Regions from separate parts of the Homo sapiens genome. Here all the other regions are linked to region 3. Evidence: promoter capture Hi-C in 16 types of primary human blood cells and fetal thymus (Javierre and others, 2016). All regions are on one chromosome and are shown on one strand. Each heading gives the region's core, a stretch centred on a gene start or on the middle of the fragment in contact. The rest is flanking DNA. Distances are from core to core; before and after follow the strand shown. Region 1 holds the start of TRL-TAG1-1 (tRNA-Leu (anticodon TAG) 1-1). Region 2 holds the start of TMEM95 (transmembrane protein 95). Region 3 holds the start of DNAH2 (dynein axonemal heavy chain 2). Region 4 overlaps GUCY2D (guanylate cyclase 2D, retinal). Region 5 has its middle 24 kb from the start of ALOX15B. Region 6 has its middle 14 kb from the start of GUCY2D. Region 7 overlaps ALOXE3 (arachidonate epidermal lipoxygenase 3).

Region 1 (3,345 bases), core at 326-2,825, 400 kb after region 3:
CGGTGGAACCTTGAAGCTTTTCTTTTAATATCAGCATGTTGAATATTGTTAATTGATTTTCACAGAGGGGATACTCCTATGACCCAAGATAATACGACAAAAAAAAAAAGTAAACTAGGACACTACCAATTATTTGTGCTTTTCCTACCGGATAATTGAGTCCTATAACACAGTGTTAAGAGAACGTACAATAAATTATTTAAATATGTTGGAAGTTGAGCTAACATTTGAAAACATGTTAAAATAGAGATGTTATGAAGAAACGAAATAATAGAGATGTTATGAAGAAACGAAATATTGCTTCAGCAGTTACCATCAGGTCTTAGCTTCTGGGATGGATGCAGGCCTATGATCTCTCTGGAAGACCAAACACGGAAGATGATGGTGAAACCATTACCAGGGGAATTCGTAAAATTACTTTCTGCATGTAAATAGGTGTAACCTCACAGAACTGTTAACAGAACTGTAGCAGGTGCGTAATCCACCAGAAAAACTCCAGCCTGGCAGCGGTGGGATTCGAACCCACGCCTCCGAAGAGACTGGAGCCTAAATCCAGCGCCTTAGACCGCTCGGCCACGCTACCTGCACGAAAACTTACTGTCCCCGTTGTCCTCCTAAGAGACTAGAAGTAAGGAATGGGGCAAATCTTAAGAGTGCCAAATTGATTCGTCTCCTTTTCCACATCTTTTAGACTGGAAATGAAGAACCATCGAGACTGTGGACCGCATAGCAGCAGATGGCAGAACAGATAAACGAGAAGAGACAAAAACACACAGAAATTTACAACAAAACTAGTTTATTTGGGTGGGACTATATCTGGGAGTGGGGAGCGCCTGAGCCGGAAACACCCCCCAAGCGGGCAGCCGGAGCTCTGCACTCGCTCGCTCAGCCATTTTCGGTTGCTCTCCCTCCCTGTTTTTTCGACCCATGTGCGCCCTCTCTCTCACCTGGCTAACATGCTTTGCGCCCGCTACCTCTACCTGGCTTGGCCTCTGAGATCCAAACCGCGCCCTCCTGGCATGTCCCGCCCAAGTCCCTTAGCCCCGCTCCCCAACCCTGCCCCATTCCCACTCTAGTACCCGTAAGCTACAAGACGCCGCCGTTCGTCGGGTGGCTCTGTGGCGCAATGGATAGCGCATTGGACTTCTAGTGACGAATAGAGCAATTCAAAGGTTGTGGGTTCGAATCCCACCAGAGTCGATTTTATTTCAATTTTTCCTTTTTATCCGTTTTTTTCTTAAAGGCCCCCATCCCTTCTCCCCCTACCCTATCTCTCTCTTTCCACCTGGTTTCAATTTCGATCTCAGTTCCCGCTCTGCTCTCTTCTTTACTTACCTGTCTGCCCCGGGGCTTGGGCCATGGAGAGCAGGACTGAGGGTGGGAGACAGAAGGGAAGGGAAAGTGGGCGTGGACGTCGAGATAAAGGCAGGCCCCTGGCTCGGGGACACACGGGGATTTAATAACCACTTTATTCCATGCACTAGGGACTCGGGAAGGGACTGGGACTGGGCTGAGGGGCAGAGAGAGTACAATCCTAGACGCAAGGGAGAAGTTGGGGCAGGGAAAAGGGACAGGAACCAGGGAAATATATATTTATATAGATACTCTAATATAGACCACATCTCACCCGCGCGCTGAGCCCGCGCGCCCCACTGCCCTCCCCAACACCTGCTCGCCCGGACGCCCGGGTCCCTCTGCTGCCCTCGGGCTGGAGTCTCTACCCCACCCCTAGACCCCGCCCCCACCACCCCCCAAGGCTCAGGGCCAAGGTCTCCAGAAAGCGGGCGGCGGGGGCAGCGGGGCCTTGGGCGCCCCGTCTTGTCTGTGAGGCGGCGGTGGCGGCGGCAGCAGTCCGGTGAGGGGCGCCGGCGCGCCAGAATCCCCGGCGCGCGGGGAGCAGAGGGATGGGGACCATGCGCAGCGCGGGCTAGGGTGGCCCTGGTGCACTGGGGGGCGCTGGTGCAGCGCAGGGCCAAGGGCCGGTGCGGCGGGGTCCAGGGATGGGCGCGGCGCTGGAGGCCTCGGATCTACCGGCTTGGGCCGGGGCGGTTTGGGGCGCAGATAGCCGTGCAGCGCGGAGAAGAGCTGGGCGCGGGCGGCCGGGCTGGCGTCGTGCGCGAAGGCCGCCAAGCGAAGCAGGCACTCGCGGAAACCGGACAAGTAGCAGCTGGCGAGCGCCTCGGCGTCCTGGACTGGGGACCGGGGAACCCCTGGAGCCGCGGCGGCTGGTGCGGCCGGCGGGAGCACAGGTGGGCAGGGCAGGGGCCCGGCAGGGGTGAGGGAAGGGGCGGGGCGCAGAGATACCAAGGCCGGACAGGCGCACAGAGACAGGAAGCCAGATGGACGGAAAGAGGGAGAAAATGAGGGAGACACAGAGACAGACACGCGCGGGTGTTATTAACCTCGCCTCGGAGCAGAACCGGCCACTCCCCAAGCCCACCATCCACCGCAGGGCCCGCCCACTCTGCCCCGGCCGGAGCCTCCTGGCGTCCCCCCTCCCTCCCTCCGCTGCCCCACCCCCGCGCTGTACCCGGGGGCTCCACCCGGCTTCGCTCCCTCAAGTAGCCCACGGCGAACTCCAATATCTCCGCTTTCTCCAGCTTCGGGTTCCGGAGGTTCTACAGACGGGAGGGGAGGGCGCAGAGACAGAAAGGGGTGGGGAGAAAGGGGGAAAGTGGCAGGGGGAAGAAGGGAGGGACGGATGCGGGAGCTGGTGGTGCCCCCGATCGCATTTGCGCACTGCCCACAGAACGCGCGACCAAATGCGGAGTGGAGATGACCAAGGAAAGTCCTGGCCCACCCTGAGACGAAACTGTCCAATCCTAGGGGTTGGAACCAATGCCCAACGCGTGAGGAGGAGATTTGAAACCGCAACCCAGGGAATGAAATTAACCACCCGACATAACAGAGGCTGGCTCATCAGAGGCTGGCTGTGGGGGAGGGGGAACCGGACACTTAGAGACCCAAAGGGTGAAACTGACCGACCCCGGGAGCGAAATTTACAGAACCAGGCGTGAAACTTACAGACCCGAGGGGTGGCGAAGAAGATCGCGTTCTGAGAGCGAGTGGGGGTCTGGGATGGAATTCCAAAGGCGGGACTCGGGTGAGGATGCCTTGGGGCCAGGGTTGCCAACCAAGCTTGTGTCCCCACCCCAGTGGGAAGCCCTGGGACGCGGAAACGGGAAGCTTGGGGACCTAGGGCTAGCGGAGGGACTGACCTGGTCCCGGGTCCGCTCCAGCAGCAGCAGCCTCAGCTCTTCCAGGCTGCGGTTGATGCGGTCCCGGCGCCGCTTCTCCACAAGCGGCTTGAGCATCTGCGACCAGCGAGAAAAGGAGAGCGGGCCG
Region 2 (3,343 bases), core at 366-2,865, 360 kb before region 3:
TGCTGCGGGTGGCTCTCGAGCACGGCTTCCGACTAGACTCTGTCTTCCCCGACCCCGAAGACCTGCTCAACTCCAGGTCTCTGCGCTTTGTCCGGCACTGAGGATGCTGTTCTCAGTTTGACTGTGGGGAGGAGAGAGAATGGGGTACTAGCACCCCTGAAGCCTCTTTCCAGCTCTGCTTCAGGAGCTATGAGAGTCGGGACTCTCCTGCACCTGACTGGAGCTCAGATGTGGGCAGGAATTCCCAAACCTGAGCCCACCAAGGACTCACAAGTGGTCCAGAAGGTCTCAACCTGTGCTGACCCTGGGAGGGGTAGGGAAGGTTCTCTCAGCTTGTTCTTGCCTAAGGCTGAGCACCTCCAGTCTCTCCTTGATTTGGAGCTCAGTGTTTAAGGGCTTGGAAAAGGGGGGAACATCTCTTTACCCAGACTAGACCTAGCAAAACCCTGGAAGGATATTGAGGTCTGGGGAAAAGGGAGGACTTTGCATTTTCCCAATGCGGTCTCTTGGACCATGGCTTCTACTCCTGAAGCTGGGTGGCCTGGCCTGGCCTGACCAATGAGAGGCCAGAACACTCTGGAACATCGGAAGAGGAGTTCTTTGCTATGTTCCAAGCCATCTACTGAGGGAGGCAGAAAGGCCACAACCCACCCTAGGTTGATGTATGGGAGCTAGGACAGTCCCCATGGCAATGGGGCTGGAGCATCCCTCATCTGGAAGAATCCCATACTGATGGCAGGGCTGGCCAGGGGGAAGAGGGTAGTATCTGTGGGTCCTGGCCTTTCTTCATGTGTGCGTGCATATCAGCCCGTGTGGCTGACTGATGTATAGGTCCCTGGCATCCTGGTTCATATCTGTGTTGCTGACTACAGTGTCTGTGATGTCCGCATGTCCAGGCCTGTTTGGGGTTGCCTAGCGACTCTTCTGGCACAGGGTGTGTCTGTGGTATACCTGTGAGGTGGTTGACAATTAGTAGTTTAATCACAGGGTGTGTGTGTGTGTGTGTGTGTGTGTGTTTATGTGCACGCATGTATATGCATCACCACGTAGCCAGGAGGGGCCTGTTGGGGTTTGAGTCACTGGGATCTTCCTGGTGAGAGGTAAGAGAAGTCACTGGGCTTAGCTGGGCCTCTGAGGCCTGTATGGAACTCTTGGTTGCTGAGGCAACCATGGACCTGTTGCTAGGAGATAGCTGGGGAAGGCCCAAGGCCGCCCAGGGCAGAGAGAGGAGACGAAGAGTTTGGGACAGTGGGGGAGGAGATGGGAAGGGATGGGATTTCTGGGTCCCAGAGCGGGTGGGATACTCACGCACAGCTTCTTCACTGGTGGGGGGTGGGGCACACATTATTTCTCACTGGTCATGATTTACAAGAAGAAAAATAAAACTGCTTTTGGAACCACAAACTTGTGAAGGCTGTTGAGGGCCAGGTTGGGGGTGCTGTCCCCTCACAACAGAAGCCCTGCTTTCTCTGCCCATCGCCTGCTGGAGATGCCTTCTGGACCCCAGTTCCTTGAGCCCCAGCTTTACCCCAGCTGAGGATGGGCAGTGCCATTGTTCATTGTTCTGGAACATTCTAGAACCTCCAGGCAAGGGCTGGAGCCAGGGCTGCAGAGCATTCCTCGGCTCAGCTGGGGCAGCGCCGCCCCATCCCCCAGTGGTCCTCATGTGGAGGCTGGCACTAGGCGGGGTTTTCCTGGCAGCCGCCCAGGCTTGTGTCTTCTGTCGCCTCCCAGCCCACGACTTGTCAGGCCGCCTGGCTCGGCTCTGCAGCCAGATGGAGGCCAGGCAGAAGGAATGTGGGGCCTCCCCAGACTTCTCGGCCTTTGCCTTAGGTAGGACCAGACATCCAGGGATGGGCCCAGCAAGCACTCACCCCCCTACCCCCAGAGGGTGGCATGTGACCTTCCAGCTGTGCCCTCCATCTGTGGCCCTTTCTGGACATGCTGGCCTTTCCCTCTGAGAGAGCTCCATATCTGGGAAAGTCAGGAGAGACCCCAGAACCTGGGCTGATGAGGGAATCGCTGGTCCTTGCCCATCTCCACAGATGAGGTGTCCATGAACAAAGTCACAGAGAAGACTCACAGAGTCCTGAGGGTCATGGGTGAGGTCAAGGGGAAAGAGTGACCTAGGGGCTTGGGAGGATACCAAGGAGAGGGACGGGTGACAGGGGTTGGGGTGGGCAGGGAAGGGTGGAGGGGTAGAGACAGGAGGGCTGATCAGGGAGGGGCTGCGTGAAGAGAGGGGGAACTGGCCCCGTCGAGGCCCAGGGAAACGGAGCTGCTGTCTGCCTCCCCAGAAATCAAAGAGGCTGTCTCCTCACTCCCTTCATATTGGAGTTGGCTTCGAAAGACCAAGCTCCCTGAGTACACCAGGGAAGGTACCGATGCGGGATGGGCCTCAAGGGGAGCCTAGGGTCTTAACCAAAGGAATGTGTGGTGAGCAGCTCATCCATTCACACCCCCACCCCTTCCTTGTCTTTCATTTCAGCTCTCTGTCCCCCCGCCTGCCGTGAGTAGGAAAGGAAAGGGGTAGCAAGGACCTGGGGCCTGCAGGGTGTCAGAGGAGGGCCTGGCAGCTGCAGGAGGAAGCTGGGTACCAGGCAGGGTGGAGGCCCGGCCTCCCCTCCCCAGCGTTGCCTCTGCTGTCTCCTGCAGGGGGCAGCACCACGCTGTACAACTGCTCCACCTGCAAGGGGACGGAGGTGTCCTGCTGGCCCCGAAAGCGCTGCTTCCCAGGTCCTCACGCCCATCTTGGCCCCGCCCCACCTTGCCCAGATCCCTGAGCCCTTGGGCTCCCAAGTCGGTGCGTGTGGGTCCCAGAATCATTCACTGCCTCCTGGGTTCCCTGCAGGAAGTCAGGATCTTTGGGAAGCCAAGATTCTGCTCCTCTCCATCTTCGGAGCTTTCCTGCTTCTGGGTGTTCTGAGCCTCCTGGTGGAGTGAGTTTTGGGATAAAGACAGGAATCCTACCCCGCCCAGTGCCTTCCACCACCCATCCTCCCTCCCTCTGTCCCTCCCAGGCCCCTCCCGTAGGCTTCCCACCCTCGTCTTCCCTCAGGTCCCACCACCTCCAAGCAAAAAGTGGCTTGTGAAGACGCTGAAAACCTCCCAGCCTCCAGCTCTAAGGGGTATGCACTCACAACTTCCACATCCCTTGGAGGGGAACCAGTCAGCCCCTTAGTCCCAGCTCCAAAGACAGTCTCCAGACCCTAAAACCCAGACATCCCTGCTTCTGGTTGGTGAGATAATGAAAAACAAGAAAATCCCCAAAAACCCAGATCCCCCACAATCCCAGTGTCAGATGGCCTCCCGGGAACCCAGGCACCCACAGCTGGAAAGTTCC
Region 3 (3,118 bases), core at 147-2,646:
CTTTGGGACTTTTCCCTAGGGGTTCTGGCCAACCACATCACCTCTGTCTGCCACCCATGGCCTATCTGGCTAGAGGAACACCTCCACGTTCCATCTTAGCTGTGCTAGCTGTGCAGCTGGTTTTGGGGTGGGCGGTACTCCTCTCCTTCCATTCCTGCTGTCAGCAACAGGAGTCTGGCTGGGCAGGAGGAATTATTGGGGGTCGGGGGGAGGGAAAGGGTTGACACTTCTGGGAATAAAGATACGGTAGGTGGGAGGGTGAGGTCAGCGCTGGGATAGGGTGTGGTTAATCCACTTGCTCTTCAGGAGTACCAGGGACTGCCACTCCTGGTAGTGCCAGGCTGGCATAATGAGATCTGTTAGGTGTGAACGCCAAACAGAAAATGGGGGAACTGAGGTGCCAGCTTCTCTTCTCCTCATCCAGCAAAGAAAATGTCATAAATTTCGCTCCTCATGGAAATGTAATCAGTGGGCTCGCTGCTGGCTTTGTCTTAATTAGGCACTATTGATGGAAACAGGGAGGGCGCCTTCCCATCCCCCCACTCGGCTTCCTCCCTGTATTTCCCAGGTCTCCCCAAAGCTCCTCCCGGCACCAGGTACAGCGGTCTTCCAGGCGCCTTCTAGCAGCCCCGGCCCGCAGCGCCCCCTGGCACCCTCGGAGATGTACCCCGGCCCTCATAGCCCTCCCCTCTCGCCTCCTCTCTCACGACGCAGCCTTTGTTCCTATGGAGAGCGAAGCCCCTCCCAGGCCCGGTCACCTTCCCCAGGGAGTCCCCGCCTCTCATCCCCCCCAAAAACCAGCGATGCCTTCGAAAGCCAATCCTCAGATTCCCAAAACTCCAGTTCCCGTCTTCCCTCCCTTTCCCCGCCCCGCGCCGCCCCCCCGCAATCCTAGACCCCAATCCGAACTAAGAAGGGGGAAGGAGCAGGAGGGCAAGGGTGCTCCAGGCCCGGTTTTTCCCCCGGATCCAGCTGCACCCACGGCTGCCTGGAAATCCTGGAACGCCTTCTACATCGCGAATATCCCTCGCCGGCCTGGCGCCCGGCGCCATCTGCTGGACCCGTTCCGGCTGGGGCGCACAGACCTGGGCGCGGGGTCGGGCGATTGGGTTCTCCCTGCCTTTTCAATGTCCTGCGGGGCGGTGGCTCACTGTCTCTCGCCCCAGCCCTTCCAGCTGGGTCCTGACACCAGGCCCCCCGCACCCTTCGGCTCGCCAGATGTGGCTACTTTCCTTTAGTCCCGGAGCCTTCAAGCCCTGGGTCCCTGAGGGGTAGACCTGGGCGGGGTGGGGCCGCGAAGCAGGGATCCAGGGCGCCTGCGCGGAGGAGGCGGGCTCCGAGGGGCCGCACACCGGCCACTCGCCCCTCCCTGCCCGGGGTTGCCATGGGGACGCGTGCAGACGCCGGCCCGAGAGGGCTGCGAGGGGCAACTTCTTAGAGTGGCCCATCGGTCGGTCTAGGGAGGGGAGGGTCAGCGTGGCAAGGTGTGTGTCGGGGGCAGAGGGAAGGAGGGAAGGAGTGCTGGGGAGAAGGGGCAGTAGTGTCGGGGTAGGAAGGGACAGTTGTTGGGGAGAAGAGGCAGTTGTGGAGGGAGAGGGAGCAAGGAATATTTGTGTGGGGGAGGGGGAGGAGAAGGGGCAGTTGTGACAGCTGGGGGGGAAGAGCCATTCTGAGGGGAAATTTGCCTGCTGGTAACCAGTTTAAGGATACCAGCTGCTGGTATAAATACTGCTGGATAAATACTGCTGGATTTATACTGCAGGATAAATACTGCTGGCCCCTGCGGTATTTCCTAGTACTAGAGTGAGCCCCGACTTAGCAGAGCAGTTCCTCCTGGGGCCTGCGGTGTGGGATCGCGTGGTGAACCCCACGGTGCATGCGCCTCAGGCTCTAGTTTGAGGCAGGAAAGCGCAGCTTGATGCTTCTCTGGAGACTGATGGAGGAAGCCTCCTTGCTGTAGTTGGTTTTATTGATTTGCTGGCCTAACAGAACGTTTTTCCTTGGAGCAAAGTACAAATCCTTCAAGTTTGAAATTCATAACCTGAGATCAATGCCTGTGGCAGCCTGTGGGGATGAGGAAGGAGAGCCACAGGTGCCGTTAGGCTGCAGCCTAATGAAAAGAGAGTGCCCAGCGCCTCAGACTTTGCGCCTGGGATTCTGAGCACCTGTCCGAGATCCCCGCTTCCTGCCATCCTACCTTTCTGAGAGAGGCACCACTGTGACCTTCCTCGTGCCCCAATTGCTTTTTCCTCATGACACAATTTGAAATTTATGATTGGATGACTTTTGTCCTTCTTTCTTCCAATCTGTTCTCAGGGCATTTTGAGTCAAATAAATGATCCTGACTGATCTTAACCATTAGCACAGAGTTCCTCAGCCAACTCTGCTAAGAGACCTCAGTACACACAAAACAGTGTTCCTGCCCCTCAGGACTTCAAAGCGATAGACCCAGGTGGCAAATACTGTTTTTCTCTGTTTACAGATGTTGCAGATTTTAGTGGGATTGGGAGGAGCATATTTCCATTTAACTTGGGAGGAAAAGAGGTACATAGGAAAATCATCTTGGTTTGCTTGAATGATTGAACAGTGACAAAGGATGGGGGATGTGCACCCCTTCCTTGATCCTCTCTCACTCACTCATGGTCCTGGAGGGTAGAGTGGATGAGGGTTTGGGCAACCACACTTCAGCTTGATAGATCTTTTCCTGATTATCTTATGTTCTCATACCCCGGGGCAGAGATAGAGGTTCTAAATCCTCATTAGTGGGGTGTCTGGCCATCTTTTTTTTTTTTTTTTTTGAGATAGAGTCTCACTCTGTCAGCCAGGCTGGAGTATAGTAGCATGATCTTGGCTCACTGCAGCCTCTACCTCTCGGGTTCAAGAGATTCTCCTGCCTCAGCCTCCCGAGTAGCTGGAATTACAGGCACGCACCACCACTCCTGGCTAATTTTTTGTATTTTTAGTAGAGACGGGGTTTTGCCATGTTGGCCAGGCTGGTCTCGAACTCCTGACCTCAGGTGATCCACCCGGCTCGGCCTCCCAAAATGCTGGGATTACAAGCATGAGCCACCGCACCCAGCCTGGCCATCATCTTTAACTCCCATTTGTTCCTAGTGCC
Region 4 (3,224 bases), core at 412-2,911, 300 kb after region 3:
TACTGCCCCCTCAGCCCCAACCCCAGCTGCCGCGTCCCCTCTGCTGCCTGCAGAACGTCCCACCCAAGCCAGGTGTCCCGATCCCTTTCTGACTTAGAGAGCCCAGGCTGGTTCCTAAACCCCGGGGCTTCCCCTGGGAGGGAAGCAGCCATTGCAGGAATTTTGGTTCAGTAGATCTGGAGTGGTTTGGAAATCCAGGCTTAGGAAACTCCGTAATCGGGGCCTTCTGTGGCCCCTCCCCTGGCCCTATCTCATCCCCAGTGCATAAACCTGGCTTCCGCAGAAGCCTCACAGGCTGTGCACTGCACAAGAGACAACTCTAGGGGGCAGCAGTCACCAGAGAACAATGTGAAAGCAGAAGCCGTGCCCACTCCCCTCCTGCAAGAAACTGACCCGTGACCCGCTCCTTCCTAGGTGAACCCCCATGACCCCTTTCCTCGACTCCCCTCTGAGATACCCCTCTTTTCTTCAGGATTGTTCTGGAAGGTCCTTTTCCTGAAAGTTGCTGCTATAGGTGACTGGAAGTCTGTCTAATGCTGGTGGACTCTGCCCAGCTCTGCCTCAAAGGATTTTGGGCCTTTTACAAGAGCTGGTTGCAAAACCAGCCATGTGACCTTGGGAAAGTGTCACGCATGCTCTGCTGTGATCCCTTCAGTGGCAAAATGGGGGGTGGCCTAAGTGGTTCCCAAGGCCCCTGTGCACCTGACAGCTGGGTGGCTTGTGGCCCTCACCCCCAGGAGCCCTGAGTCCAGCAGGGGATGTGAGGGTCAGGGATTCTCCGCTTCCCAGTGTCTCTCAGGGACCCAGGAAGGAGGATCTGGGATTGATGCCCGACCCCAGAGGAAGTGGAGTTCTGTTCCACCAGAGCAGGGTTTGTCACATGGCCTGAGGGGGCAAGGGCTCCTGTTTAGCCTCAAGCTTCATTCCTATCTCCATCTCCCACCAGTCAGAAACTGGCTGCTTCTCCTGTGGGTATAATCAGGGAACTTGCCCAAGTGCAGAGAAAAGCTTGCTTCAATGCTTTGAGGAAAGGAAATTGTGCCACACCTTGACTGACCAGAACATCCAAAGAGCGGCATTCTCTGTTTAACTAGGAGCTGCTGAGCAAGCAGTTGGACAGAAAATCCTCTCTGCTTAGAATTTTTTCTTTTTTTTTGAGTCTCACTTTGTCACCCAGGCTGGAGTGCAGTGCAGTGACACAATCTCGACTCATTGCAACCTCCTCCTCTCAGGTTCAAGTGATTCTCCTACCTCAGCCTGCCGAGTAGCTGGGATTACAGGCACCCGCCACCACGCCCGGGTAATTTTTTTGTGTGATTTTAGTAGAGATGGGGTTTCAGCATGTTGCCCAGGGTGGTCTTGAACTGACATCAAGTGATCTGCCCACCTTGGCCTCCCAAAGTGCTGGGATTACAGGTGTGAGACACCGCGCCTGACCTTTGCAGCAATTATCAATGCCCTGTCCTGGCAAGTCCCCAGTTGAAGTTGCCTTTGTGAAACTCTGACCTTCCAGAGCCTGGGCCTTGGCACATTTGACTCTTGGTGTCTGTCACCATTGCTACAGACCCTGGAAGAAGTTTGCAGCAGGCTAGGAAACCACCTAGGCTGCCACCAGAGGTAGTGAGTGTCCAGTCCCTGGAGGTGTGAAGGCAGAACTGGAGACATCATTGACCAGGGATACGACAGTGAGAGGGAATTCCGGAACTGAACCTTCACTACACCAAGTGTGGTTGGTGGGCCAGGGTCGGCACTGCCTGTGAGCTCATTAGAAATGAAGGATCTCAGGGCCCCACCCCAGACCTGCTGAGTCTGGATCTGCATTTTAACAAGTTCCTACAAAATATTGACACGCTCATTAAAGTTTCTGAATCATAGAACTAAATCACCCTAAGATCTTTAAATCTTAGAATCTCTAAGATCTCATAAAGCCAGGCTACAAACTAGCCACCAAATTTCTTTTGTTTGGCCTATAGAGTGTTTTGTTTTGAGCTAACATTTAAAAATCAACAGCTTCCACATTTTAAAAATGTATAGCAGATTTCCCCCTTCTCTTGAAATCAGAAGCCCCACATGGTGCTTGTGTCACCACTTAACCACATTCTGCTGCAGCTAAACAGCAACAGTCCCCTTTATCCAGATGTCGCCACTCCCCACAGACTCCGAGACACCAAGATTTTTTGAACATTCCTTTATATTCCTGCCTGGTGCCTGTAGACATTGAGCTTAGGACTCCTTAGCAGGTATTAGGATTACAGGGGCTCCTGGACGGGACTTTGCCTTCTTTTTTTTTTTTTTAAACTGATTCATGACTTCCACAAGCTTAGTGGTATTCCCCTCCTTCCTAAAGGTGAAGGAAGAATGTATCAAACATCGAGAATCCAGCACTTGTAAGTTCTGGTTACCGAAGGTGATGTTGCTACAGAGAGCAATTTAGTGCAATTTTAAAAACATTTTAAATTGAATTTAAATACGATGAATTAAAGATTAAAAACAAAACAAAACCCGGGCATGCACACACACACATTTTTAAAAGTTATTTACATTCTTGAAGATTTTCCTTAAGATTTTCTCTGTACTTAGGTCCCAGGGATTGAAGCGCAGATTCACATCTCTGGCCTTGGACCTGACTGTGTGGATAGAGCTCTCAGCCTCCTGTCTCTTCCCTCCCGTACCCGACCCTGCAGCCCTTCCCCTTCCTTCCCTCTCTCCCTGCCTGCAAGGGCCTGGAGTAGTTAATGGTGTGTGATTTCGGCTGCCTCAAGGAAGAGTCCAGGATTAGGTGCAGAGGGATTAGCTGGGACAGGCTTAGGCAGGGCTCCTCCCGGAAGCAGAGGCGGATGAGCCAGAGGGCAGACCCAGTTTAAGGTAGAAGTGGAGTGGGCAGGGCTGAGCCAGTTCCTTCCCACCTTCACTCAGCCTCCTTCCCAGGCTGGCCTCAAGCTCAAGTGACCAGATGTGATAGAAGAGCCCTGACCCCTCCCCAGCTAGAAGAACTTGGGGAACCCCCACCCCAGAGTTCACAGATCTAGTGGGAGAAGAGAAGGCAAAAGATGAAGCCTCAGCCTCCTCTCTGTGCCTCAGCCTCTCCTTTCTCTGTTCCTGCCTCCCTTTCTGCTCTATTCTCCTGTCTTTGTGTCCCCACAGTCCCCTTTCTGCCTGGCAGTCTCTGTCTGCCTTTCTCTGCAGTTTCCACCATTTCTCTGGAAATCTTATTTCCTGGACCC
Region 5 (3,371 bases), core at 78-2,577, 350 kb after region 3:
AATAACTAGTTCCATTCCTTTGGAGGGAGCCGTAACTATCTTTACTGATGGCTCTCAGAATGGAAAAGCAGCTTATACAGGACCGGAAGAAAAGATTATTCAAACTCAGTTTCATTCTGCACAAAGAGCTGAGCTACAAGCAGTTATATCTGTATTGGAAGATTGTAATCAACCTGTTAATATAATCTCTGACTCTGCTTACGTATTCCAAGCTGCCAAAATGGTAAAAACAGCTTTAGTAAAACATATTTCTGATGATCAGTTAAATTTCTTGTTTAGTTCACTTCAACAAGCAGTTAGGACTCAAAATTTTCCCTTTTATATTACACATATTTAGGCTCACACAAACTTACCAGGACCTTTAACCCTATTAAATAATCAAGCAAATTTATTAGTGACGCCTGTTCTAACAGTGTCCGGCCTCTGAGCCCAAGCTAAGCCATCATATCCCCTATGACCTGCACGTATACATCCAGATGCCCTGAAGCAACTGAAGAATCACAAAAGACGTGAAAATGGCTGGTTTCTGCCTTAACTGATGACATTACCTTGTGAAATTCCTTCTCCTGGCTCAGAAGCTCCCCTACTGAGCACCTTGCAACCCCCGCCCCTGCCCGCCAGAGAACAACCCCCTTTGACTGTAATTTTCCACTACCTACCCAAATCCTATAAAAGGGCCCCACCCCTATCTCCCTTCGCTGACTCTCTTTTCGGACTCAGCCCACCTGCACCCAGGTGAAATAAACAGCCTTGTTGCTCACACAAAGCCTGTTTGGTGGTCTCTTCACACAGACGCGAACAAAAGCTCAAAACTTCCATTCCCTAATTCATGTAAATGCTGCTGGATTAAAAAATAAATATTCATTTACCTGGAAACAAGCTAAAAATATAGTACAACATCCTCAGTGCCAAGTGCTACAGCTACCCACCCAAAAACCTGAAGGTAACCCTAGGGGGCTTCAACCAAATGCAGTGTGGCAAATGGACATGACTCATGTCCCATCATTCGGAAAACTTTCTTTCGTACATGTTACTGTTAATACTTTTTCTCGGTTTATCTGGGCTACACGCCAAACTGGAGAAAGCACAGCTCACGTAAAACGACATTTATTATCTTGTTTTGCAGTCATGGGTGTGCCACAGAAAGGAAAAATGGTCTGGTGGAAGGATACCAGAACCAAAACTTGGAAATTAAGAAAAAGTATTACTTGGGGGAGGGGTTTTCCTTGTGTTTCACCAAGAGACAATCAAACACTCATTTGGATACCCAATAGACATTTAAAATTCTACAATGAACCCTACACCGACCGGTCAGAAAAAAGGAAAGAATCAAAAGAGAAAGAAGACCGGTCCCTTCGACCTGTCTTTTCGGGAGCTGAGGAAAATGGTGAAGCTGAGCGTCTCGGAGAAAAAACAGAAGACGGAGAAGACTCGCTAGGCTACACCACTGACATGGGGACAGATAAAGAAGCTGACTCAATTGGCAGAGGACACCCTAAAGGAGAAACAACTAGCGATTACACCGGGTAATATGATCTTGGCTGCCTTGATGGTAATCACCACGGCGGTAAGTCTCTCTGCTGTTTCAGCTAAGCAAAATTTTACTACTGGGCTTATGTTCCATTTCCTCCTTTGATTAGACCTGTCACTTGGATGGACTCCCCTACTGAAGTTTATACAAATGGTAGTATCTGGATGCCTGGGCCGACTTATGATAGCTGTCCTGCATAGCCTGAGGAGGAGGGCATGTTAATGAATGGGATAATTGGGTATAAATACCCTCCAGTTTGTTTAGGAATTGCTCCTGGATGTTTGCCATTACAAATACAAAGTTGGATGGTCTACGTACCTCCTCATAATCGTTCTCAACCTAGTTATCACGTAGTGAGTGGAATGTCTTTTCAACCCATCAGGACTGTAAAAACTTAAGGGGATAGTTATTATCAGTCAAATATAAAAGTCCAAAATTGCAAGCCTAAGGGATTGGCTTGCCCTAAAAGGAATCCAGAATGGTCAGAAAAATGAGAAATTCTTACTTGGGAGGTTTGTGTGGCAGATAATGCGGTAGTTTTGCGAAATGGTTCTCATGGGGTCATTATAGACTGGGCTCCTAAGGAATCTTTTGCTAGAAATTGCACCGGACAAAACGCTGGGTGCGCTGGGGACTCCTTTATGATCGAATATAGAAATGATCCATATAATCCCCCCACTTTAGTTAGAAGATTTGAATCAACATACCCATTAAAGTGGGAAGATAAAGATACTGCTCCCCCTCCACCAAAAATTAGTCCGGTCGTGGGTCTGGAACATCCAGAATTGTGGAAGTTGCTTATGGCGACCTCCGGAATGAGAGTGTGGAAAGGGGAAGCGTCCTGGGGAACAAAAGGTAATAAGCCACTCTTTACTATGCCTTCTCCCTCTGCCCACTCCCCCGCCCCCCGAAAGGAAGACCTCCAGGTGACGCTCCCTGAGGACTCGGGCCAGGTGCTGCTGCTGCGTTTGCACAAGGCGTCCCCCGCCTCCCCTCCCCTCTGCCACCCCTCCCCCCGCCGGCCTCCCCGCCTCCCCCACCTCACCCCTACCCCCTCCGCCCCCCGCCCCCCGCCACGCTGCCTCGCCCCCTCTAGGTCCGGCCCAGACTCCGGGGTCTGCCGCTGGGTCCAGCTGAGGCTGCTGGGGACCCCCTCCGCTCCCCCTTACCAGTGGCTGGAGGGGGCAGGCAAAGGGCAGGGCCGGGGCTGCAGGAGGGGCATGGAGGGAGCGAGGGGGACCAGGGTGGTCATGGGTCAGGGGAGGGGGGCTGGTGTGGACACAGTGGGGAGGGGGGAGGCAGAAAGGTGACATGAGGGGCACGGGAAGGAGGAGGTGGGATGGTTGGGAGGAACCATACTCAGGGAGGGGAGGATGGAAGATAAGTGGGGGAGGGGAGCACCGGCTCTGACAAGAGGATTAGGTGGGGAAGTTGAGTGGTGGATCAGTGAGTGGAAGAGGGAGAAGCTGGTGGAAAGAGAACAGGCCTGTGAAGCAGAGGGGTTGGGGGCAGAACATCGTGGCCCAGTATTGGGGGTGGTGGGTGTAGCTATGTCTTCTCTTTCCTCTTCCCACCGACTTTACTCTTTGGTCCCCTCTGGCCTGGGCTGTTGAGTTGGGGCTCAGTGAACGGATGGGGACGACCTCAGGTGCTGAAGCAGGTGCTGAAGCAGGGTCTGCCGTGGGGGGAAGGTGGAGTGGGCAGGGCTTCTCCATCCCTGGGGGAAGAGGCAAAGCAGACGCAGAGGCCAGGGGCTGGCCAACACCCTGGTTCAAAGATGCTCCCACCCCAGGTCTGGGGAGAGGAGGGGAGAGGCTGGGGGCTAAGATCTCCCTTTCTG
Region 6 (3,352 bases), core at 852-3,351, 270 kb after region 3:
AAGACTCTGGTAATATGCCATTATCTTTTGACTATTATTTTTCAGGTTATATCTACAGCCATATTGTGATATAGCGTTAACACTCACCTTGTTGCTAAGATTCAACTATCTTACATAAACAGGTCATGTGATAATACTGATATTGATGATCAAATGTATTGGGAAAATGGCCCTAAGGAAGAACTGGATTTAACTAACCAAAGCTAATTTCTATGCTACCATGCTCTGAGAAGCCCAAGCCATGGAATCACTACATAGAGAAGTACAGAGGTCCTCAACTCACAGCCCTCACCAACTTGCTGGAGGATAGCAACACCAGCTACCAGCCCCATACCCCGGCCAGCATCACGTGGAGCAGGGCCGCCTGGTGAAGCCACTGGGTCCACAGAATCATGAAGTTACAACTGGCATTGCTTCAAGCCATGCAACATTGGGGAGTATTTTATTTCCTACCAGTAAATAGACAAAACACCTGATATTTCCAATCCCTCAGGCTTCCCGGATTCTGCTGGTTTTTGATGTCCACCCCCACCCGCCAGCGCTTGGATTTGAGCTCCCTCTGCTCTGCCAAGTCAGTCATCACTCTCCACTCTCCCCCTGCTTTCCAGAATGCTGAGTTCTCCTGTCTGTGCTCATTTCCTCCCCCGCTCTTCTTGTCCTTGTGGGTTTATGCCTTTTTTATCCCTTTATTGTAATTTTAGTGGGGTTTGGGGAGGGTGAAGAGATAAATAGATCTGCTTAATCCGTCCTGTTTAATTCAGTTTCTCCTGCATTCTTAACATCCTATTCACAGGATTCTCCCTCCACCTCCTTCTTTACTCAAGATCTGGCTCTGCTCACAGGCTCCTCCCAGACGCCACACACCCCAGAGTTGAGAGGTTTGGGGTCAGTGTCCTCATTCCCAGTGGTTCCTTGAGGGCCATGCCACTCACCTCTTCCACCCCGCCCCCATCCCTGGTGAATGCCATCATTCACTGAGCAGTGGGCACACCCTCTTCTCCATCAGCTCCCAGTCTTCTCATTCTGGTGACTTCACCATCCCCAAGATCAATCCAGCCATCAGCTTGGCCTCTGAGCGCCCCGAACTCCTCGTGTCACATGCTTCTCCTCTACCTCCTTCAGCCATGACGTCACAGGACCAAACCCCCACTGTGTCATCTCCCAGAGCTGCCTCCCCTCTGAAGTCACTAATTCAGGCTGCCTACCCAGCACAACGGCCAGCTAAGAGGTCCCTTCTCCTGTGTGGAGCTGATCCCGTAGTCTATGCTCTGCATCCCTTGTCGCGCCCCCACCTCCCGATGGTGCATTCCATCTGCCTTACGTTGTCACCTTCTCCTTCTCTGTACGGTTTATTTTACTTTATTTTATTCTATTTGGAGACAGAGTCTCGCTCTGTCGCCCAGGCTGGAGTACAATGGCACGATCTCAGCTCACTGCAATCTCCGCCTCCCAGGTTCAAGCGATTCTCCTGCCTCAGCCTCCTGGGTAGCTGGGATTACAGGCACCTGCACCACACCTGGCTAATTTTTAGTAGAGATGGGGTTTCACCATGTTGTCCAGGCTGAACTCAAACTCCCGACCTCAGATGATCTGCCCACCTCAGTCTCCCAAAGCGCGGAGATTACAGGTGTGAGCCTCCACACCCGGCCTCCTTCTCTGTATGTTTTCTGAGGGCAGCACCAGCACCCATTCACCCACTTCCAGCAGCAGAGCCTGATTTTGCCTCTAGACCTCTCCCTGTCCCCCTCAGTCCTTGTCATCTAGGTTAAACTGGCTACACCCTCAGCCTGGTGTGAGCCAGGCCCTGCCAATCCATCACCTTGCCTGGTGACTGAGATGGACTCGGGAGTGGACATCCGACCAAAGGCAGGCCAGTTAGTCAAGAGACTCTTGGATTTTTGTGGAAGCCATTAGGTAAGTGGGGTCTTTGCTGGTTGGATTTAAGTCTGGGAGGATGAAGGACAGCACTGTTGCAGCCGTTTTGCCACAATGAGGGGAGGGCCTTTGGGAGGATAAAGCCCAGCATAGAAGAGAGCAAAGCCTGAGGCCTGCGGCATCTATGCCTGAATCCAGCTGTGCCTGAAGGTAGCGCTGTAGCTCAGGTTTCCAGTTACAAGAACCCATTCAACCTTTCTGCCTTAGCCTGGTTAGTATTGTGGTCCCACTGAACGTACCATTCAGGAGAATCACGTTTAAAAGTGGCACAAGACAAAGACATGAATCTGAATACCTTCAGACATAGTCTACAGCTCCCCCTGGTGGAAAACATTGTTTTTTAGAGTCCAGCTACTAGGCCTTAATTTTTATCCACCACGTGTCCCAATAGTCTGTATATATCTAGGTCAATTTAGAACATCTTTTCTAGTTCAAAAAGCATGTAATTGCTGCTATTTATAATCCTGATCACAGCCCATTCCGGTAATACTTTGTAATTCAGAACTATAATCCCCAACGAAACATGTCCCAGAATCAAGCAGTGAATGTAGAATGTGCTAGATCATTAGGACTCTTTTTTTTTTCTTTTTGAGATAGGGTCTCGCTCTATTGCTCAGGCTGGAGTGCAGTGGTGTGATCAGGTTCACTGCCGTCTCGACCTCCTGGGTTCAATGATCCTCCCGCCTTGGCCTCCCAAAATGCTGGTGATTACAGGCAGGAACCACTGTGCCCAGCCAGGAATCAATGTTTATAATTATCAAAAAAGAGACAAGAAGAAAGGAGGAAACACAAAACCATAATGCGGAAGAATGTTAAAATCCGGTCAAGTATAACTTCATTGATTTCTGGTTTCAAGGATTGTACCCCACAATTGTCTCTTTTCTCCCCACACGTCATGGAAATGATCAGAAAGAAGTAATTGTATGACAGTTTAAAAAATGAACTGTTCCGACCTGGAGCGGTGGCTCACGCCTGTAATCCCAGCACTTTGGGAGGCCGAGGTGGGTGATCACCTGAGGTCAGGAGTTCGAGACCAGCCTGACCAACATGGTGAAACCTCGTCTCTACTGAAAAAAAAAAATGCAAAATTAGCCGGGCATGCTAGCGCATGGCGGAGGTTGCAGTGAGCCGAAATCGCGCTATTGCACTCCAGCATGGGTAACAAGAGCGAAACTCGGTCTCGGAAAAAAAAAAATCTGTTCCAGCAAATGATAAAGCTGGAGAGAATGTTACTAACAGAACTGAAAATCTGAGGAATTTGAGGAAATGTGTTCTTCGTTGAGAGCAAAGTCACGCAGTGCTGAGCTGAGCACCCAGCGCAAAGGAGGGGCTCCCTAAAGGAAGGTGGAAAGGTCTCCCCAGTAGAGCTCCGCCCAGCCCCAGCTCTAAGCAGCGGGCCCCGGGCATCAGGGTTTCA
Region 7 (2,974 bases), core at 438-2,937, 380 kb after region 3:
GGCCTGTGCCATTGCACCTGGCTTAATACTTGATTTCTAAAACTGTAGTATAGCCATCAAAAAAACAGAACACACACACACACCAGAGAAAGAAAGAGAAAACACAGCAGAAGACAGAAATATGACACTGGATTCAAAGCCTACTTACTAGCTCTGTGCTGTTGAACAAATTGCTGAATCTCCCTGAACCTCAGTTTTCTCCCCTGTGAAGTGGAACTACCATTTATTGAACATTTATATGCCAGCACGGTGCCAAGCTGCTTTTTTTTTGTTTTTTTTTTTTTGAGATGGAACTTCACTCTTGTTGCCCAGGCTGGAGTTCAGTGGTACCATCTCAGCTCACTGCAACCTCTGCCTCCCGGGTTTAAGTGATTCTCTTACCTCAGCCTTCTGAGTAGCTGGGTTACAGGCATGCATCATCATGCCCACCTAATTTTTGTATTTTTAGTAGAGATGGGGGTTTCACCATGTTGGCCAGGCTGATCTCGAACTCCTGACCTCAGGTGATCCACCCACCTCGGCCTCCCAATGTGCTGGGATTACAGGCGTGAGCCACCACGCCTGGCTGCCAAGCATTTTAAATAGAGCTATGTATTTGGTTCACATTTTAAAATCATGTACACAAAGGATCTGATTTAATAACTGAGACATGATGGCTCCTCAGTGACAGCTGCCATTATTATTGTTGTTATAAATTTCCAAGTTAAACTTTCTATAGTTTATAGGAGAGAGCCCTCCACCCTCATGCTGTTGTCTACTTATCTGTCATCCCTCTGGGACCAGATAGGGACAGGACCCAGAGTCCTGCCATTCCCAGGATATAAGGTAGCAAGTTAAAACTTGCCAGGAAGATCAAATATGTGGGATCTTTCTTTTTTTGTTGTTTTTTTGTTTTTTGTTTTTTGTTTTTGTGTCACCCAGGCTGGCGTGCAGTGGCGTGAACATGGCTCACTGCATTTTTTTACTTCCTGGGCTCAAGTGATCCTCCCACTTTAGCTCCCCCCAAGCAGCTGGGACCACAGGCACACACTAATACGCCCGATTAATTTTTGTGTTTTGGGTAGAGACAGGGTTTCACCATGTTTCCTAGGCTGCTCTTGAATTCCTAGGCTCAAGCAATCCACCGGCCTCAGCCTCCCAAAGTGCTGGGATTGCAGGCACGAGCCACTGTGCCCAGCAACATCTGGAATCTTTCCAGCACCAAAGGGAGTCAAGCGTGAGAAATAAGAATATTCACCTGTTAGAGAGCTTGTGTGCAAGACGGCTGGGTGGAAACAAAGATGATGGGAACCAGTGATAAAGGGCTACTTGCCTGGCCTAAACTCAGATATTGGCCCCTCTCTAGCCTCCTGCCTCCAAAGTTGCCCTTTGCATCCATTCACGCAGCCACAGGAGCACCCTAGCTAAAGCAGATTTAACCATTGGGCCTCAGGCTTAAAAGTCTTGATTGGCGGCCGTGCGCGGTGGCTCACACCTGTAATTCCAGCACTTTGGGAGGCCAAGATGGGTGGATCACAAGGTCAGGAATTCGAGACCAGCCTGGCCAACATGGTGAAACCCCATCTCTACTAAAAATACAAAAATTAGCTGGGCACAGTGGTGGGTGCCTGTAATCCCAGCTACTCGGGAGGCTGAGGCAGGAGAATCGCTTAAACCTGGGAGGCGGAGGTTGCAGTGAGCTGATATCGCACCATTGCACTCCAGCCTGGGTGACAGAGCAAGACTCCATGTGGGGGGGTGGGGGAAGCCTTGATTGGCTACCCTTTGTCTTCTAAACGAACACTGTGCAGACAAAGCCCTACCTTCCTCTCCGCTCTGCTATTTCCATTTGTGATCCTACAAACACACCAGTGATTTCTCGCCTTCGCTCCTTGGTCCTGTTCTTCCCCCTCCCTAAAAAAGAGCCCTGCTCTTCCTCTCTGTCCAACTCCTACTTGTCCTGCAGATTTCAACTTAGATGTCACTTTCTCCAAGAAGCCTTCCTGGGTTCCCCCAGACCCATTTAGGTTCCTCAGGGCCCTGTCCTTACCCCTATCACTGGACTGTAAGCTCACATGGACAAGTTTCATAGCTGCCCATAACAGTGTCTGGGTCACCACTGGTACTCAGGAAGTGTGTGTTGAATGGAGAAATTAACATATAAGTAACTCCTACAACACGGTGGTGCCCTTTTTCATTGACCTGTATGTCTCCTCAACTAGACCACAGGCTTCTTGAAGGCAGGAAGGTCTCAGCCAGCGTTATAGGCCTGGTGCCCAGTGCTGTGTGGACACATAGGAAGTATCCAACAAATGTTTATTGAATGTTTGCATTAACACATGAGTAGTTGATGAATGAACATTCGGATAAATGGATGGACGGACAGATTGGTAACTAAACTGGTATTTGCTTCAGTCTATGTCTTTTGGGATTATCATTTTCTGAAGAAATTGAAGAACCCAAGGCAGTTCTGCAGTGAACATAAATCCCGTCGATCAGTCCTCAAGCCCCCAGACGAAGCCACCACCACCCCTACTGGTGGCCCTAAAGAACCCTACTCCCCTCAACATCCCGTATACACACCTGGTCCTTGGGTTCTTGGCTAACCAACCAGAAGAGGAGGAGGTTGTTACAGCTGATGTTCACTTCAGGGAGGGTGTCTAGGTAAGTCTTCAGGGTGGTGGTCCCCTTGGTCTGGGGTGGGGGCTGCCTCATGGATGATGGAGCATTGGGCATCCAGGCCCCAAAGTCATGCTGTGGAGACCCCCATCCCAGTTGGGTCAGTTGGCCAGAAGGGGAGTATCACCTCCCTCTTCACCATCCCTGATTCCACCTCTGCCGTCCTAGAGGTGATAGTTGGGAAATGAGGGGATCACGGAAAGGCAAGAGAGCTGGGAAATGAGGGGATCATGGAAAGGCAAGAGAGGAAAGGGTAGGGAGTGGAAAGTCCCAGAAGTGGGGCAGGAAGCCAGCTTACTCCTTGTCACTCCCCGCC

The links. Contacts are between HindIII fragments. The CHiCAGO score rates a contact against its expected background, and 5 or more counts as called.
Region 1: a contact is called between a fragment that was not itself captured here and the fragment with the promoter of DNAH2 in region 3, in 2 of 17 cell types (megakaryocytes and M1 macrophages). The highest score is 5.9, in megakaryocytes.
Region 2: a contact is called between the fragment with the promoter of TMEM95 here and the fragment with the promoter of DNAH2 in region 3, in 1 of 17 cell types (M2 macrophages). The highest score is 5.5, in M2 macrophages.
Region 4: a fragment that was not itself captured here is called in contact with the fragment with the promoter of DNAH2 in region 3 in 7 of 17 cell types (activated CD4 T cells, endothelial precursors, erythroblasts and 4 more); the score reaches 8.4 in activated CD4 T cells.
Region 5: a contact is called between a fragment that was not itself captured here and the fragment with the promoter of DNAH2 in region 3, in 3 of 17 cell types (activated CD4 T cells, naive CD8 T cells and naive CD4 T cells). The highest score is 6.5, in activated CD4 T cells.
Region 6: a fragment that was not itself captured here is called in contact with the fragment with the promoter of DNAH2 in region 3 in 1 of 17 cell types (endothelial precursors); the score reaches 5.3 in endothelial precursors.
Region 7: a fragment that was not itself captured here is called in contact with the fragment with the promoter of DNAH2 in region 3 in 1 of 17 cell types (activated CD4 T cells); the score reaches 5.2 in activated CD4 T cells.

The regions. Positions count from the first base shown.
Region 1 is chr17:8,119,813-8,123,157 of GRCh38, forward strand. HES7 (hes family bHLH transcription factor 7) reads right to left here. Exons shown (of 4, transcript NM_001165967.2): 2 at 3,219-3,314; 3 at 2,531-2,618; 4 at 780-2,225. The coding sequence ends at 1,759. TRL-TAG1-1 (tRNA-Leu (anticodon TAG) 1-1) reads right to left here and starts at 583; the gene lies at 502-583. It overlaps TRR-TCT2-1 (tRNA-Arg (anticodon TCT) 2-1), which reads left to right and starts at 1,113; the gene lies at 1,113-1,200. It overlaps TRQ-CTG1-5 (tRNA-Gln (anticodon CTG) 1-5), which reads left to right; the gene lies at 1-11. RefSeq lists silencers at 1-58, 429-638, 1,579-2,038, 2,259-2,368. The HindIII fragment of the contact is 3,122 bases long and covers 15-3,136 here.
Region 2 is chr17:7,353,541-7,356,883 of GRCh38, forward strand. It overlaps TMEM95 (transmembrane protein 95), which reads left to right and starts at 1,616. Exons shown (of 7, transcript NM_001320436.2): 1 at 1,616-1,833; 2 at 2,046-2,102; 3 at 2,298-2,378; 4 at 2,489-2,509; 5 at 2,656-2,736; 6 at 2,852-2,939; 7 at 3,059-3,343. The coding sequence starts at 1,665. The coding sequence ends at 3,092. It overlaps KCTD11 (potassium channel tetramerization domain containing 11), which reads left to right. Exons shown (of 1, transcript NM_001363642.1): 1 at 1-1,404. The coding sequence ends at 101. RefSeq lists enhancers at 1,157-1,683, 1,684-2,210. The HindIII fragment of the contact is 23,288 bases long and covers 1-3,343 here.
Region 3 is chr17:7,716,348-7,719,465 of GRCh38, forward strand. It overlaps DNAH2 (dynein axonemal heavy chain 2), which reads left to right and starts at 1,397. Exons shown (of 86, transcript NM_020877.5): 1 at 1,397-2,452. The HindIII fragment of the contact is 13,987 bases long and covers 1-3,118 here.
Region 4 is chr17:8,016,556-8,019,779 of GRCh38, forward strand. The region is part of intron 19 of GUCY2D (guanylate cyclase 2D, retinal); the gene reads left to right. Among named protein-coding and RNA genes, the nearest start is that of GUCY2D, 16 kb to the left of the region's middle. RefSeq lists a silencer at 180-360. The HindIII fragment of the contact is 1,311 bases long and covers 1,007-2,317 here.
Region 5 is chr17:8,061,494-8,064,864 of GRCh38, forward strand. No RefSeq gene overlaps it. Among named protein-coding and RNA genes, the nearest start is that of ALOX15B, 24 kb to the left of the region's middle. RefSeq lists an enhancer at 2,854-3,355. The HindIII fragment of the contact is 6,181 bases long and covers 1-3,371 here.
Region 6 is chr17:7,986,643-7,989,994 of GRCh38, forward strand. No RefSeq gene overlaps it. Among named protein-coding and RNA genes, the nearest start is that of GUCY2D, 14 kb to the right of the region's middle. The HindIII fragment of the contact is 8,340 bases long and covers 1-3,352 here.
Region 7 is chr17:8,100,761-8,103,734 of GRCh38, forward strand. ALOXE3 (arachidonate epidermal lipoxygenase 3) reads right to left here. Exons shown (of 16, transcript NM_021628.3): 15 at 2,563-2,733. Among named protein-coding and RNA genes, the nearest start is that of MIR4314, 14 kb to the left of the region's middle. The HindIII fragment of the contact is 4,448 bases long and covers 1-2,974 here.